Linked DNA regions of Homo sapiens: region 1 is linked to region 2. Evidence: promoter capture Hi-C in human tissues and cell types (Jung and others, 2019). All regions are on one chromosome and are shown on one strand. Each heading gives the region's core, a stretch centred on a gene start or on the middle of the fragment in contact. The rest is flanking DNA. Distances are from core to core; before and after follow the strand shown.

The links. The method cuts DNA at HindIII sites, captures the fragments that hold promoters and counts their contacts. A contact is called where the count stands out against the background at its distance.
Region 1: a fragment that was not itself captured here is called in contact with the fragment with the promoter of GFM2 in region 2 in 2 of the 25 tissues and cell types used here (hippocampus and spleen).

The regions. Positions count from the first base shown.
Region 1 is chr5:73,567,752-73,574,586 of GRCh38, forward strand. It overlaps UTP15 (UTP15 small subunit processome component), which reads left to right. Exons shown (of 13, transcript NM_032175.4): 3 at 484-576; 4 at 669-853; 5 at 1,746-1,924; 6 at 2,835-2,960; 7 at 4,738-4,873. Among named protein-coding and RNA genes, the nearest start is that of UTP15, 5.4 kb to the left of the region's middle. The HindIII fragment of the contact is 7,294 bases long and covers 1-5,963 here.
Region 2 is chr5:74,765,059-74,772,086 of GRCh38, forward strand. GFM2 (GTP dependent ribosome recycling factor mitochondrial 2) reads right to left here and starts at 2,059. Exons shown (of 21, transcript NM_032380.5): 1 at 1,880-2,059. NSA2 (NSA2 ribosome biogenesis factor) reads left to right here and starts at 2,191. Exons shown (of 6, transcript NM_014886.6): 1 at 2,191-2,305; 2 at 3,873-4,060; 3 at 4,156-4,306; 4 at 5,573-5,752. The coding sequence starts at 2,303. RefSeq lists an enhancer at 1,772-2,211. The HindIII fragment of the contact is 4,613 bases long and covers 1-3,262 here.

The sequences.
Region 1 (6,835 bases), core at 1,067-3,566, 1.2 Mb before region 2:
TTGAAAAACCCATGTCTATTAGTAGTGGACTGGTATAGTAAATTACAGTGTGCCCTTATAATGGATGGTAAGTCTATTGCTCCTATGAAAGCTAATATGTGTTACTAAGTGAAAAGAAGCAAGATGTGGAACAGCCTACATGGTATGATTATCTTTTTGTTATTTTAAAAGTACAAGTACGTGGTTATTGTATGCTGGTGTAGACATGATAACTTTTTTTTTCTGGTAGAAATCACAGTAAACTCAATAGCTGAAGAGACAGAGTGGGGTGTGGCTTTCTAACCATATGTTTATTTCAGTGGCAACAAGAATAGTCTGGGTGATGAGATATGTACCTTTTTTGCTTTCTTTGTAATTTTATGTTAAATACAACTTAAGAAATGTTACTAAGAACAAAGAGAAACGGTCTGTAAGAAATTATGTAATGCATAAATAGGTCTTACCAGTGGTAACTCTGTTAACACACTATTATTTTTTATTAAGACCCCTGTTCAGATTAAGGAATTTGGTGCAGTTTCAAAAGTAGACTTTTCTCCTCAGCCTCCATATAATTATGCTGTCACAGCTTCCTCAAGAGTAAGTATAATATTAAATTTCTTTATTTTTCTTTTGTATAGTTTACTACTGATCTTGAGCCATCTGGTGAAATACTGTTTTTCATCTTGTAGATTCACATTTATGGCCGATACTCCCAAGAACCTATAAAAACCTTTTCTCGATTTAAAGACACAGCATACTGTGCTACTTTTCGACAAGATGGTAGATTGCTTGTGGCTGGCAGTGAAGATGGTGGAGTTCAACTTTTTGATATAAGTGGGAGGGCTCCCCTCAGGCAGTTTGAAGGCCATACAAAGTAAGAGACAGTTGGTTTCTGTGTGTTCTGGTTTTATTTTGTTGTAAGCTCTTTTTTTCTCTGGACTTTGGTTAAAAAGATAGAGATCAGTTTTATGGAGATTATTTGCCTATAGGTACTATATTTCCTGATTGTTCTAAGAGTGCTTAACTTGGGTTCCGTGGTCCAGTTTCATGGGGCTTATGAATTCCCTAGAATTGTATGTGATATTTTAGGAAATACACGTTTATCTAGGGAGCTACTCTGTAGCTTTTGGTTAACTTTAGTGGGGTCTGTGGCCCAGCTGAGATTATGAATTACTGACCTGAAGACAACCTTACAGCTGGTAATGACAGCTCTATAGGCCTGTACTGTCTTAGAGGCTCTTATGTTGAAGTCAAGTAGGAAGGTGGATTTTCTTCTTGAATTTATAGTGTTTTGCCCCTTAATAAATTAAGTGGCCATCACAATTTTATATTATAACTTTGTTTTCAGGATTGCCAATGTCCGTGCTGAAATTTGTTAAAATTTAACAGAAATTTATGTAACATGATTCTATTTAGTGGTAAATCTCTTTAGAGTTTTTTAAAGAACTTTTTGAAATTTTAAAAATTAAAGTGCCTTTGCTTCCATATTCAGCAGCTAAGTGGAATTGTTTATATACTAGAAAATATAATTTTAAGGCTATCCTTTAATTTTTTTTAACTTTACAATATAGGAGTATTTACACTTCTTAATTGGTTTGGGGGCAAACACTTGTAAGTTTTCTCTTTCTTTCATGATTTCCCCCTATGAAGACTCCCTGAAACTCAGCTGCTTTTTTTTTAATCTGAGAAAAAGGAGCATTTTATGTTAGAAGGTATCAGAAAAATAATTTTCTTGCTTTTTAATATACTGACCTTCAATCTTTCAGAGCAGTTCATACAGTAGATTTTACAGCTGACAAATATCACGTGGTCTCTGGGGCTGATGATTATACAGTTAAATTATGGGATATTCCAAACTCCAAAGAAATTTTGACATTTAAAGAACACTCTGATTATGTGAGGTGTGGATGTGCTAGCAAACTTAATCCGGATCTCTTTATAACAGGTTGGTGAACTCTATTCCCTCCTGAAGCAAATAATCTCACGGGGATGTACTTTAATGTTGCTATGGGACTCTTTTGGGATGGAGGGGTTTAAATTTTTTTTATAAAGGAATATGTTTCTGATTAATTCTTCAGTTTTTAAATTAATTTTTATGTATGTATGTTTGCATTTATTTTCAGACAGGGTCTCACTCTGTTGCCCAGGCTGGAGTGCAGTGATGTGACCATAGCTCACTGCATCTGCTACCTCCTGGGCTCAAGTGATCCTCCCACATAAGCCTCCCAAGTAGCTGGGACTACAGGTGCCCACCACCACGTCCAGCTACTTTGTGTATTTTTTTGTAGAGACGGTTTTGCCATGTTGCCCAGGCTGGTCTCGAACTCCTGGGCTCAAGTGATCCACCTACCTCAATTTCCTCCCGGAGGACTGGGATTACAAGTGTGAGCCACCATGCCTGGCTTCCAATTGTTTTTTATTTTCTTATTCTTCTTTTGTTGATTGTTCATGTCTTCCAAATGTGTTTGGAAAAATCAGGCTGTCTTGAAAACATAATAGACTCTCAGAACTGTAATGTATAGTACCCTGCCTCAAGCAGCCAAGAAACAAAGAGTGCAGTTTAGCCTTTGTGGGTGCCTTTACAAAGATTTCCAGATGATTCAGTAGTGACAGTAGTCCAAAGAAAGAAATATTTTAAGATCAGAGCAAGTTAGATTCTGTATAGTATTATGTAGTGCTTCTTCAGACACGATCAGTAGTAGATGGTTTGGAGGTCCTGTGTCTTCATGAATATACATATATGTCTTTTTAAAACTCCATCTAAGCTTTTTTTCCTTTTAAAATTTATATCTGGATACACACAGTTTTTGTTGTTTTAAACAGTCAAACTAAAAATTCAAAAATTGACATTTTAGGATCATATGATCATACTGTGAAGATGTTTGATGCACGAACGAGTGAGAGTGTTCTCTCCGTTGAGCATGGGCAGCCAGTGGAGAGTGTCCTACTTTTCCCCTCTGGAGGTCTTCTGGTGTCAGCAGGTACTTCTTAAAAATAGCTTTCACCAATATTGTTGGTTTTGAATCACGTTTGTTTAAAATCAGTTGCTCTTTGTAATTTATCAGTGTGCATTTGAATTGCATATCTAAGTCTTTGTTCAAACAGTTGATAGGTAGGACTGGCAAGCAGTTATCATTTATTGTGTACCTAATGTGAGCCAGGCACTGTGCTGTTACATATGAACTCTAATGCCCTAGATGATGCTACAAGGTAGTTAGCTTTTTCCCTACTTTACAGCAATGAAATAAAAGTTTTAACTTATTTTTCAAGGCAAAGTGGTAAGTGGCAGATCTGAAATCACAGAACTCGAGAGCTCTGTGTATTTAGCCCTGTGCCATCTTATTTATTTAGCCCTGTGCCATCTTATTTAACCCCAGAAATTTAGCCCTGTGCCATCTTATTTAACCCCAGAAATTTAGCTCTTATGTATTTAGCCCTGTGCCATCTTATTTAACCCCAGAAATTTAGCTCATACTCCTTTTACTCCTACCTAAGAGATCTGCAGCAGCTTTTGAAAATCAGTTATTTGAGATCTAGTAGGCTTGTCTCTTTTTCTGTGACTCTCTTGATTGAAATGCCACTACCCAGCAAATAGCTGCTAGTACTAGAGAAAGGAGATAATGTGGCCTCAAAAGGGGCCTTGGTACATTTTTCAACAAGTTGGGACTGAGATGTTTTTCTCATTTTGCACATATTGCATTTTCATAATTACAGTGGAAGAAGTAAATTGGCTTTTTTCATTTGTAAATAAAGTAAAAATGTGTTCATATTAGAAGAATGTATAGGTAGTATGTATACTTGACAACATATATATTGCTGTGTGTACCTCCTTTTTTTTTTTTTCTTAATTCTAAAATCTGGCTAGAAATTACTCTGTTTTATATTCTTTTCCCCAGTACCTATTTGATTTAAAAATAAGTTGAGGCGGGATGTGGTTGCTCACGCCTGTAATCCTAGCACTTTGGGAGGCTGAGGCAGGCGGATAGCTTGAGTCCAGGAGTTTGAGACCAGCCTGGGCAACATAGCAAGACTCTAAGACTCCATCTTTAATTAAAAAAAGAAAAAAGTTGATAATGTCAGATGTGTCTACTTTTCTTGCTGTTATTCTGACAAATGGAAAAAATATCATGTTGAACAGGGAGAATAGAAAGCTGTGTGCTGATCTCCACTGTGTGTCACTAGCTAATTGTGACCTCGGGCAATCCCTTAAGGTCTCTAGACCTTGAAAATGAGAGGGTTGGACTAGATCAGTGATTTCAACTGTGATCCCTCTTGTGAGGTGCCACATAGGAGTGGAGAGGTGGGAACTGTGAGTTGGGTTCCAACTCCTGTTCCCCAGTCAAGATTTCAGTCTCCCCTTCCATCCCTTTTTCTGTCTTTCCATATTAGACTTTTTTGCTTGATATTTTGCTGCAGATCTACATTATTCACTTCCACTGCTATATAGAATTTCTTTTAAAAAATGATTTTATTATAATTTTCTTAAAATGGACTCTTTCAGTTATACATTTATTTTGCTGGAATTTATGTACACTTCACAAATATTATTTAATGGTCATAACAGTTCTGTGAGGTAGGAACTGTTATTACCAATGACCCAGGAAGTGGTGCATCCAGGATTTTACCAGGCAGCCTGGCCTGGACTCCCTCACTCAGCCTCCATGCTTTGTGGAGTGTCCAGAGAAGAATGCTTTTCAGATCTTTAATATGTTGAATCTGTGGGCAGAATATCCAACTAACGATGATTTCTTTTTATAGGAGGTCGTTATGTTAAAGTCTGGGACATGTTAAAAGGAGGACAATTGCTAGTATCTTTGAAAAATCATCACAAAACCGTGACATGTTTATGTCTAAGCAGCTCTGGACAGAGGTTACTCTCTGGCTCACTGGATAGGTTGGCATTTTAATTTTTTTGTATATTATTATTAGTGTACACCTGTTTACTGCTTGAGGAAATGAGTTATTTCAGCAATATTTGTGATAAGTATACAGATAATGATTTCCAGGAGAAAAAAACCTGTTGAGTTGAAAATAGTTTTGACCTTTTGTTTACATATAGCTACTTCTTTTCTTTTCTTTTTTTTTGAGACAGAGTCTCACTCTGTCACCTAGGCTGGAGTGCAGTGGTGCAATCTCGGCTCGCTGCAACCTCCGCCTCCCAGGTTCAAGTGGTTCTCCTGCCTCAGCCTCCTGAGTAGCTGGGATAACAGGCACGCGCCACAATGCCCGGCTAAGTTTTTTATTTTTAGTAGAGACGGAGTTTCACCATGTTGGTCAGGCAGGTCTTGAACTCCTGACCTCGTGATCCGCCCACCTCAGCCTCCCAAAGTGCTGGGATTACAGGCGTGAGCCACCACACCCGGCCACCCATAGCTACTTATTTTCTCCTTTGACACAATTTGTTTTAACTTGTATACTTAAACAACATTATTGAACCATTTGAATGATAATCTTTCAAATAATGTTATTCTATAAACCATCTTTTAAAATCATTATTGTACATTCATATATTTTGAAGTTTTTTTTTTTTTTTTTGAGACAGAGTCTTGTTCTGTTGCCCAGGCTGGTGTGCAGTGGCACAATCTGGGCTTACTGCAACCTCTGTCTCCCAGGTTCAAGCGATTCTCGTGACCCAGCCTCCCAAGTAGCTGGGATTACAGGTGTGCAGCACCATGCCTGGCTAATTTTTGTATTTTTAGTAGAGACGGGGTTTCGCCATATTGCCCAGACTGGTCTCGAACTTCTGGCCTCGTGTGGTCTGCCCACCACGCCCTCCCAAAGTGCTGGGATTACAGGTGTGAGCCACTGTGCCTGGCCTGAAAAGTTTTTTAAAAATTAGATAAATTAATTTTTTTTTTTTTTTTGAGATGACATCTCGCTCTGTTGCCCAGGCTGGAGTGCAGTGGTGGGATCTCAGCTCACTGCAACCTCTGCTTCCCGGGTTCAAGCGATTCTGCCTCAGCTTCCTGAGTGGCTGGGATTATAGGCGCTTGCCACCTTGCCCGGCTAATTTTTGTATTTTTAGTAGAGACAGAGTTTCGCCGTGATGGCCAGGCTGGTCTGGAACTTCTGACTTCAGGTGATCCACTCACCTTGGCCTCCCAAAGTGCTGGGATTACAGGCATGAGCCACCACGCCTGACCTAAAAGTTAGATAGCACATTTTATTTAGCCTAATATCTAATGTAAAAATAAAATATATATTACATATAAAATATAATTTCAGTATGTAATCTATGTCAAAATTATTAAGATACTAGAAATAAATTAAGCATCTAAACATGTGCACTATGATACAATAATCATATTTTAGGTTGGTACAGTGGCTTACACCTGTAATCCCAGTGCTTTGGGAGGCTGAGGTGGGAGGATCACTTGAGGCCAGGAGTTTGAGACCAGCCTAGGGAATATAGTGAGACCCCATCTCTACAAAAAATTAAAAAAATTAGCTGGCCACAGTGGTACACACCTTTAATCATAGCTACTAGGGAGGCTGAGGCAGGAGAAGCACTTAAGCCGGAGTTTGAGGTTGCAGTGAGCTGTGATAGTACCACTGTACTCTATCCTGGGTTACAGTGATACCCTGTCTCTAAAAAAAAAAAGATAATATTTTATAAAAATTACTGTCTCAGTTTTTAAATTAAAATTAGATAAAATAAAAAATTTAGTTTCTCATTTTCACTAGCCACATTTCAAGTGGTCAGTAGCCATGTGCAGCTAGAAGTATGGCACAGTTCTAGAATTTACATGATTTATTATTAATTTTTTTTTTTTTTGAGACAGGGTTTTGCTCTGTCGCCCAGGCTGGAGGGCAGTGGCATGATCTTGGCTGACTGCAACCTCCACCTCCTGGCTTC
Region 2 (7,028 bases), core at 809-3,308:
TACAGGCGTGAGCCACCATGCCTGGCCTTGAATCCATTCCCTTTTCATTGGTAACGCCAAAGTTCAGGGCCTCATAGTCTCTCCACAGTTGTGACTGTAATAGACATTTTCCTCTTCTTTAACTCAGTGGTTGTCAATAAAAAGATAATTTGCACAACCCAGCCCTCCCCCGCCCAAGCCTATTCGTTCCCATTTATTCAACAAGAATTTACTGTGTGTCTGCCTACCCACTGCTTTCTAGATATCAGCGTTAATGCAGTGAACAAAAGACAACAATCTCTGCCCTCATACTGCCTCTACCGTAGTCAGGGGATACAGACAACAAACAAAAGTAACGAATACAATACATAGTCTCTCCCATGATGATAGGGTGCTGTAGAGAAGAATGAAGCAGGAAGGAGGAATTGGGACAGTTAGAACTGTAAGTAAAGAGATCAAGGAAGGCCTCATTCAAACAGTGACATTTAAGCAAAGACCTGAAGTAGATGAGGGAGGAAATTCGGGGGATTGAGGGACGGCGGGGAGGGGCGCATTAAAGGCAAAGAGATTATATAACGTACTGTACCTAAAATATACAAATGCTAGTTACTATTTCTGGTTTTAAAGAGAATGATGAGATCACCTTAGAAAATGGAGCCTTAAAAAACTGCTTCAAAGGCGGGGCTCGGTGGCTCACGCCTGTAATTCCAGCACTTTGGGAGGCCGAGGCAGGTGGATCACCTGAAGTCAGGAGTTCGAAACCAGCCCGACCAACATGGTGAAACCCCATCTCTACTAAAAATACAAAAATATTAGCTGGGTGTGGTGGCGAGCGCCTATAATTCCAGCTACTTGGGAGGCTGAACCTGGAGAATCGCTTGAACCCGGGAGGCAGAGGTTGCAGTGAGACGAGATGGCGCATTTGCACTCCAGCCTGTGCGACAAGATTGAAACTCCGTCTCAAAACAAAACAAAAACTGCCTCAAAGCCGGGCGCTGTGGCTCAAGCCTGTAATCCCAACACTTTGGGAGGCCGAGGCGGGTGGATCGCTCGTACCCGGGAGTTCGAGACCAGCCTGGGCAACACGGTGAAACCTCATCTCTACAAAAACTACAAAAATCAGCCAGGCTTCGTGGCGCGAGCCTGTAGCTCGCTACTTTTGAGGCTGAGGTCGGAGGATCGCTTGATCCCGGGAGGTCGAGGCTGCGGTGAGCCGAGCTCGTGCCCCTGCACTCCAGCCTGGGCGACTGGGCGAGATGCCGTCTCAAAATACCCATAAAAACAAAAACAAAAACAAAATACTGCCTCAAATACAAGCACTAAGAATTAATGAAAGTATTCTTTTGGTACAGTTCTTTTTGTTCATCAACTGAATCACGCTGCAAGCTGTGAAGTAATTAAGGGAACTTCTGCAACTGTGCAGTAAAAGGGTAAACCTGATAGTGTATTTAAGTAGACGTACTTTCTGGTAGTTAATTACTTCTTGACACTAGGGGGCCACTAAATACAAGTCCACTCAGCATTTGATTCGGTGCACCAAAATGCCTCAGAAATTTCTGGAATCAGTCCTGTACCTCCAAAAAACCAGAATGTTATCTTCTTCTTTTCTAACAGCTGCAAAGCCCCAGTAGTTCCATTTTTCTGTACACTAAGTTTTCATTCCTCAGTATCCTTCACAATCATGCACACATTACACAGAGTGACCGGAACAAAGATGAGTCGACTTCGCCGAATGATAGAGAAAAACTTCCATACTGAGCGAACACCGAGGGGAGTCCGGAGGCCCTGTTGTCCTCTTCCGTGGCTGGCTGTGTCCGTCGCAGCCTGAAAGGTCAGCGGTACCCAGCGCTGTGACAGGGTCACAGGCGCGCGATGTCTCACAGCTCGGAGCAGTACTCACCTGGCATTAGGCCGCGTGCCGCAGGCCAGCTCTCACCGCTGGGCTCTTGAAGCAGGAGGCGCGAGCCGCGCCAAAGTCTGCAACGGCCTCAAGTCTCGACGCCAGCCTAGGCAAAAGGCAATGTATCTAAACGAAAAGAAAATAGGCTTTCTCCGCTCTACCGCCTCGGGCAGCCACACCTCCACACTTCCGGCGGTGTACCGGCCAAATGCCGCCTGCCAGCAACTTCCGTCCTCCTAGCTAAAAGCGGAAAACAGAGGCTCGGAACCGCTGCGTGGTTCTTGCTCTTCACTCGGCCGTTTTAAAGGGTGACTCTTTCCTGTCCCGGCCTGCGTGGTGTGGGCTTGTGGGTCTTTGAGACCCGAAAATTGAGAGCGTTTTCGCACTCCAGCGGCTGCTCCTGGCGGCTCTGCGGCCGTCACCATGGTAAGGAGGATGCCTCGGACGCTCGCGACACACAGCGTCTGAGTTAGTGGGACCTGAGGACTCTGGGGCGCTGGGGTAGGGGGTGAGCGGTGGTAGGCGGAAATGAGAACTGCCAAGAGAAAAGGATGGTAGACCCGTGGGGTGGGCTCTGAGGAGTGGAAACAACTTCACATTCGAGACACAGACGGTATTTGCCAGAACACAAGCTTTGGAGCAAGATTTTACTCTGTCCTGTTTTCTTTTTTCTTTTTGATCCACCGCTAAGAGTCCTAAAAATTCCTGATTTCACCACAAGCGTGGTTATCAGCCCCAGAGCCTAATGGGAATATGGTTGTCCCTTGTACAGTCTTAGATGTCAGTCCCGCCCCCTTCATTTTACTGCTGAGGAAACTGAAGGCGTCCTTGCCAAAGACCAGACAGCTAATGAATTGCGAAGCCGGGCTTAACGGCCCAGATCTAACTGCCAGGTCCTTTCTCTTTGTGTTACGTCTCTATAATCTGCGTTTCTTTGCAAAATGGCATTCCATACACCCTTCATGTGATTGCTGCAAAGTTTATGTGATAGCAGTTGGTAGCAGCACACCTTGTTGGTTGTTACTTAACATTGCTCTCTGTGCTGGACTTGGCTTTGTATCATTTTTATTTTTGCAGCCTTAAAATACGAATAGACTCACGCCTGGCCGCGTGTTTAAAACGTGTCTAAAATGCAAAAAGCATCCCATACATTGCTGGTGAAAAGAAAAATAATGCACTTTTGGAAAACGGTCTGGCAGTAAACACACGTCCACATGAAGACTTGCATGCAGTTGTTTATTGCAGATTTATTCGTAATCACCCAAAACTGGGAACAACCCTGATACCTATCATCTGGTCAGCGGGTAAACAGTGGTGTATCCATACAATAGCATACTACTCAACAATAAAAAGGATTGAAGTTCCTATACCTGCAGCAAATTGGGTGAATCCCAAAAGCAAGAAACCAGATTCAAAAGGCTATGTACTACTGTTGATCCCTGTTTCATTCTGGGAAAGGCAAAACTGTAGGGATAGGTATCAAACTGAGGGTTGGGAAAGAGGATTGACTTAAAAGTTACATAGGGAATTTTAGGGGGAAATGGAAATTCTTTGTATTTTGATTGTGGTGGTTACAGAACTGTGTAGTTAGGAAAAACTTAGAACTGTATACCTAAAAAGGACAGGTTTTACTGTGTGTAAATTATGCTTCAATAAAACTGACTTAAATTTTTTAAATGTGAAATGAAGGTGTTATTAAAAAAGCAAATTATGTCAAGGAAAAAAGATACTGTAATCAGTTCATCCCTTTTGTGGTCCAGTAGATTTTGGACCATTCCCTAATGAGATTATTAGAGATGTAAGCCCTGATGCCTCATATCATTCAAGACCAAAATTTAACTTACATCATGTGAATAAACTTAATGGTGCAAGAATCATTTAAGTAAGTGAACATTTGGATGAAACAGGGTCTTTGTGCTGTGTAAAAGAAAGCATTTTAGAATAATTGTCAGTACTTTAAAAAATTAAAATAATATTTCTTCCATCATTATAGCCACAGAATGAATATATTGAATTACACCGTAAACGCTATGGATACCGTTTGGATTACCATGAGAAAAAGAGAAAGAAGGAAAGTCGAGAGGCTCATGAACGTTCAAAGAAGGCAAAGAAAATGATTGGTCTGAAGGCTAAGCTTTACCATAAACAGCGTCATGCTGAGAAAATACAAATGAAAAAGACGTAAGTGGTCTCATTTATTTGTCATAACAAGTTAACATCTTTTGAGTAATCATTATTAAAACAGATAATCTTGAATCTTTTTTCCTTCTTGGTAGTATCAAGATGCATGAAAAGAGAAACACCAAACAAAAGAATGATGAAAAGACACCACAGGGAGCAGTACCTGCCTATCTGCTGGACAGAGAGGGACAATCTCGAGCTAAAGTACTTTCCAATATGATTAAACAGAAAAGAAAAGAGAAGGCGGTAAGCAATAACAATTGAAGTCTTTGTTTTGTTTAGGAGAATTACTTAAATTCAAATTTGAGGTTCTTGTTTCTCGGTTTAATTTCAAACATGAAGTACAGCTATTATTCCCATTATTTAGATGTTGAAGTCTTTGTAAATTTAATAAAAAACTTGCTTTCTCATCATAAGGTTTTAAAATTTAAGTTATAAAAAAAATTTATTAGAATGCCATATGAAATTAAAAAGCTGGTAAGGAGTGAATTTCAAATTCAATATTTGTCTTCCTGTTTGAAAACCCACAGTGCTATGCAGTCATAAAGAAAAATACAAATGCTTCTTATTTGTGCTGCCCTGTAGTGCCAAACTTGGTTAAAAAGTAGAATGGTGGAAAACTCCCTGAGTTGTCACAAAAAATGTGGCTTTTTAAAACACCTGTAAATAGATTAGCAGAAATCCAGATAAAAGAATATGCAGTATTTATATTTAAAGAATTATTTTTACTGCCTTACACTATTTCAGTTTTTTCATAGAATTTGCACTCAAGGGAGGCATAAAACATCTGGTGAGGATTTTGTCTTGCTAGTGATCTACAGATCCATCTCGGGAAGAAATACAGAGACATATTAAGAGGTGGAAACACTCTTCCAGTATTATGCTATTAAACATTAGTAAACACATATACTGCTTATAGAAGTCACTATCGGCTGGGCACCGTGACTCACGCCTGTAATCCCAGCACTTTGGGAAGCCAAGGCAGGTGGATCACCTGAGGTCAGGAGTTCAAGACCAGCCTGACCAATGTGGTGAAACCCCACCTCTACTAAAAATACAAAAATTAGCTGGGTGTGGTGGTGTGTGTCTGTAGTCCCAGCTACTCGGGAGGCTAAGACAGGAGAATTGCTTGTACCCAGGAGGCGGAGGCTGCACAGTGAGCCAAGATTGTACCACTGCACTCCAGCCTGAGCAACAGAGCGAGACTCCATCTAAAAAAAAAAAAAAAAAAAACCACCACATTACAGGTGGTATTTTCTCACCCATAACACAGCATTAAGATTTTTAGCTTAAGCCAACCATTTATTTAACATACCCATGATATATAAACTTGTTCTGTTTAATTTGCAGCTTATGAGACAATACAGACCTCTAGAAGACGGTTGAGCCAAAAATGTGTTGATGGTCAAGCAAAAAAAATAGATCTATTACTTTGTACAACTAAAACATATTTGACTTATTCTCATTGTCCTTTAATAACAATATAAACTTTTAACTGTGGCATATTTTTAGGGAAAATGGGAAGTCCCTCTGCCTAAAGTACGTGCCCAGGGAGAAACAGAAGTATTAAAAGTTATTCGAACAGGAAAGAGAAAGAAGAAGGCATGGAAGAGAATGGTTACTAAAGTGTGCTTTGTTGGAGATGGCTTTACAAGAAAACCACCTAAATATGAAAGATTCATCAGGCCAATGGTAAGTCCTTGGAAGAGTGTAATGACCGAAATGTTAGTTGACTTTATTAAATCGGATAAAGAACATTATCATTTCCTGAAATTCTTTAAATTGATGTGGAACAGGTTGAAAGATATTTTTATGCAATTTTTGTTATTTTATTGACAGAAGTTATTTAGTACTTTTTCCACTAGTCAAAAATCTTTAGCCCAGTGCGGTGGCTCACACCTGTAATCCCAGCACTTTGGGAGGTTGAGGTGGGTGGATCACCTGAAGTTAGGAGTTCAAGACCAGCCTGGCCAATGTAGTGAAACCCTATCTGTACTAAAAAATACAAAAAATAAGCTGGGCGTGGTGGCGGGCGCCTGTAATCCCAGCTACTAGGGAGGCTGAGGCAGGAGAATCGCTTGAACCTGGGAGGCGGAGGTTGCAGTGAGCTGAGATCACGCCATTGCACTCCAGCCTGGGCAAGAAGAGCAAAAATCCGTCTCAAAAAAAAAAAAAATCTTTTCAGCTTCGTGAGAGATTTGAAAAAGTAGTATCATAAGACATTGTCAGTGAATTCTGACTTTTAAACATGACATATTAGAATCTTCATTTTCCACAGTCATATTTTCCTCATTAAACTAGTGATCTACAATATGCCTGATATTGTCTAGGTCTCAAAACACTTCTTGTCTTTGACAGCAGTTCGAAAACTTGAGTAGGACTGTTTTATAAGAGTCAATTCCAGTTTGATAAGGAAAGTATCTAAATGCTTTTGAAAATCATTGAAAAGCCGGGCGCGGTGGCTCACGCCTGTAATCCCAGCACTTTGGGAGGCCGATGCAGGCAGATCACGAGGTCAGGTGATCAAGACCATCCTGGCTAACACTGTGAAACCCCATCTCTACTAAAAAAAAAAAATACAAGAAATTAGCCGGGCATGGTGGCGGGCGCCTGTAGTCCCAGCTGCCTGGGAGGCTGAGGCAGGAGAATGGCGTGAATCTGGGAGGCAGAGCTTGCAGTGAGTGGAGATCATGCCACTGCACTCCAGCCTGGGGGACAGAGCAAGATTCTGTCTCAAAAAAAAAAAAAAAAGAAAAAAAGAAAAAGAAAATCTTTGAAAAAAGGAAGATAATTTAATATAGCTTAATTTCTGTTGAAGGCAGCAATAGTAATGTGACCCCAAACTTCCCCACCCCTGGGGAGAAACATAGTTGAAGATATATTTTTGCAAAATCCCTTCAAAGAGACTGAACTATTCTCCCAGTTAGATACACAGCCTCAAAAAAACAAAGTATCAGAGAGAGGAAAG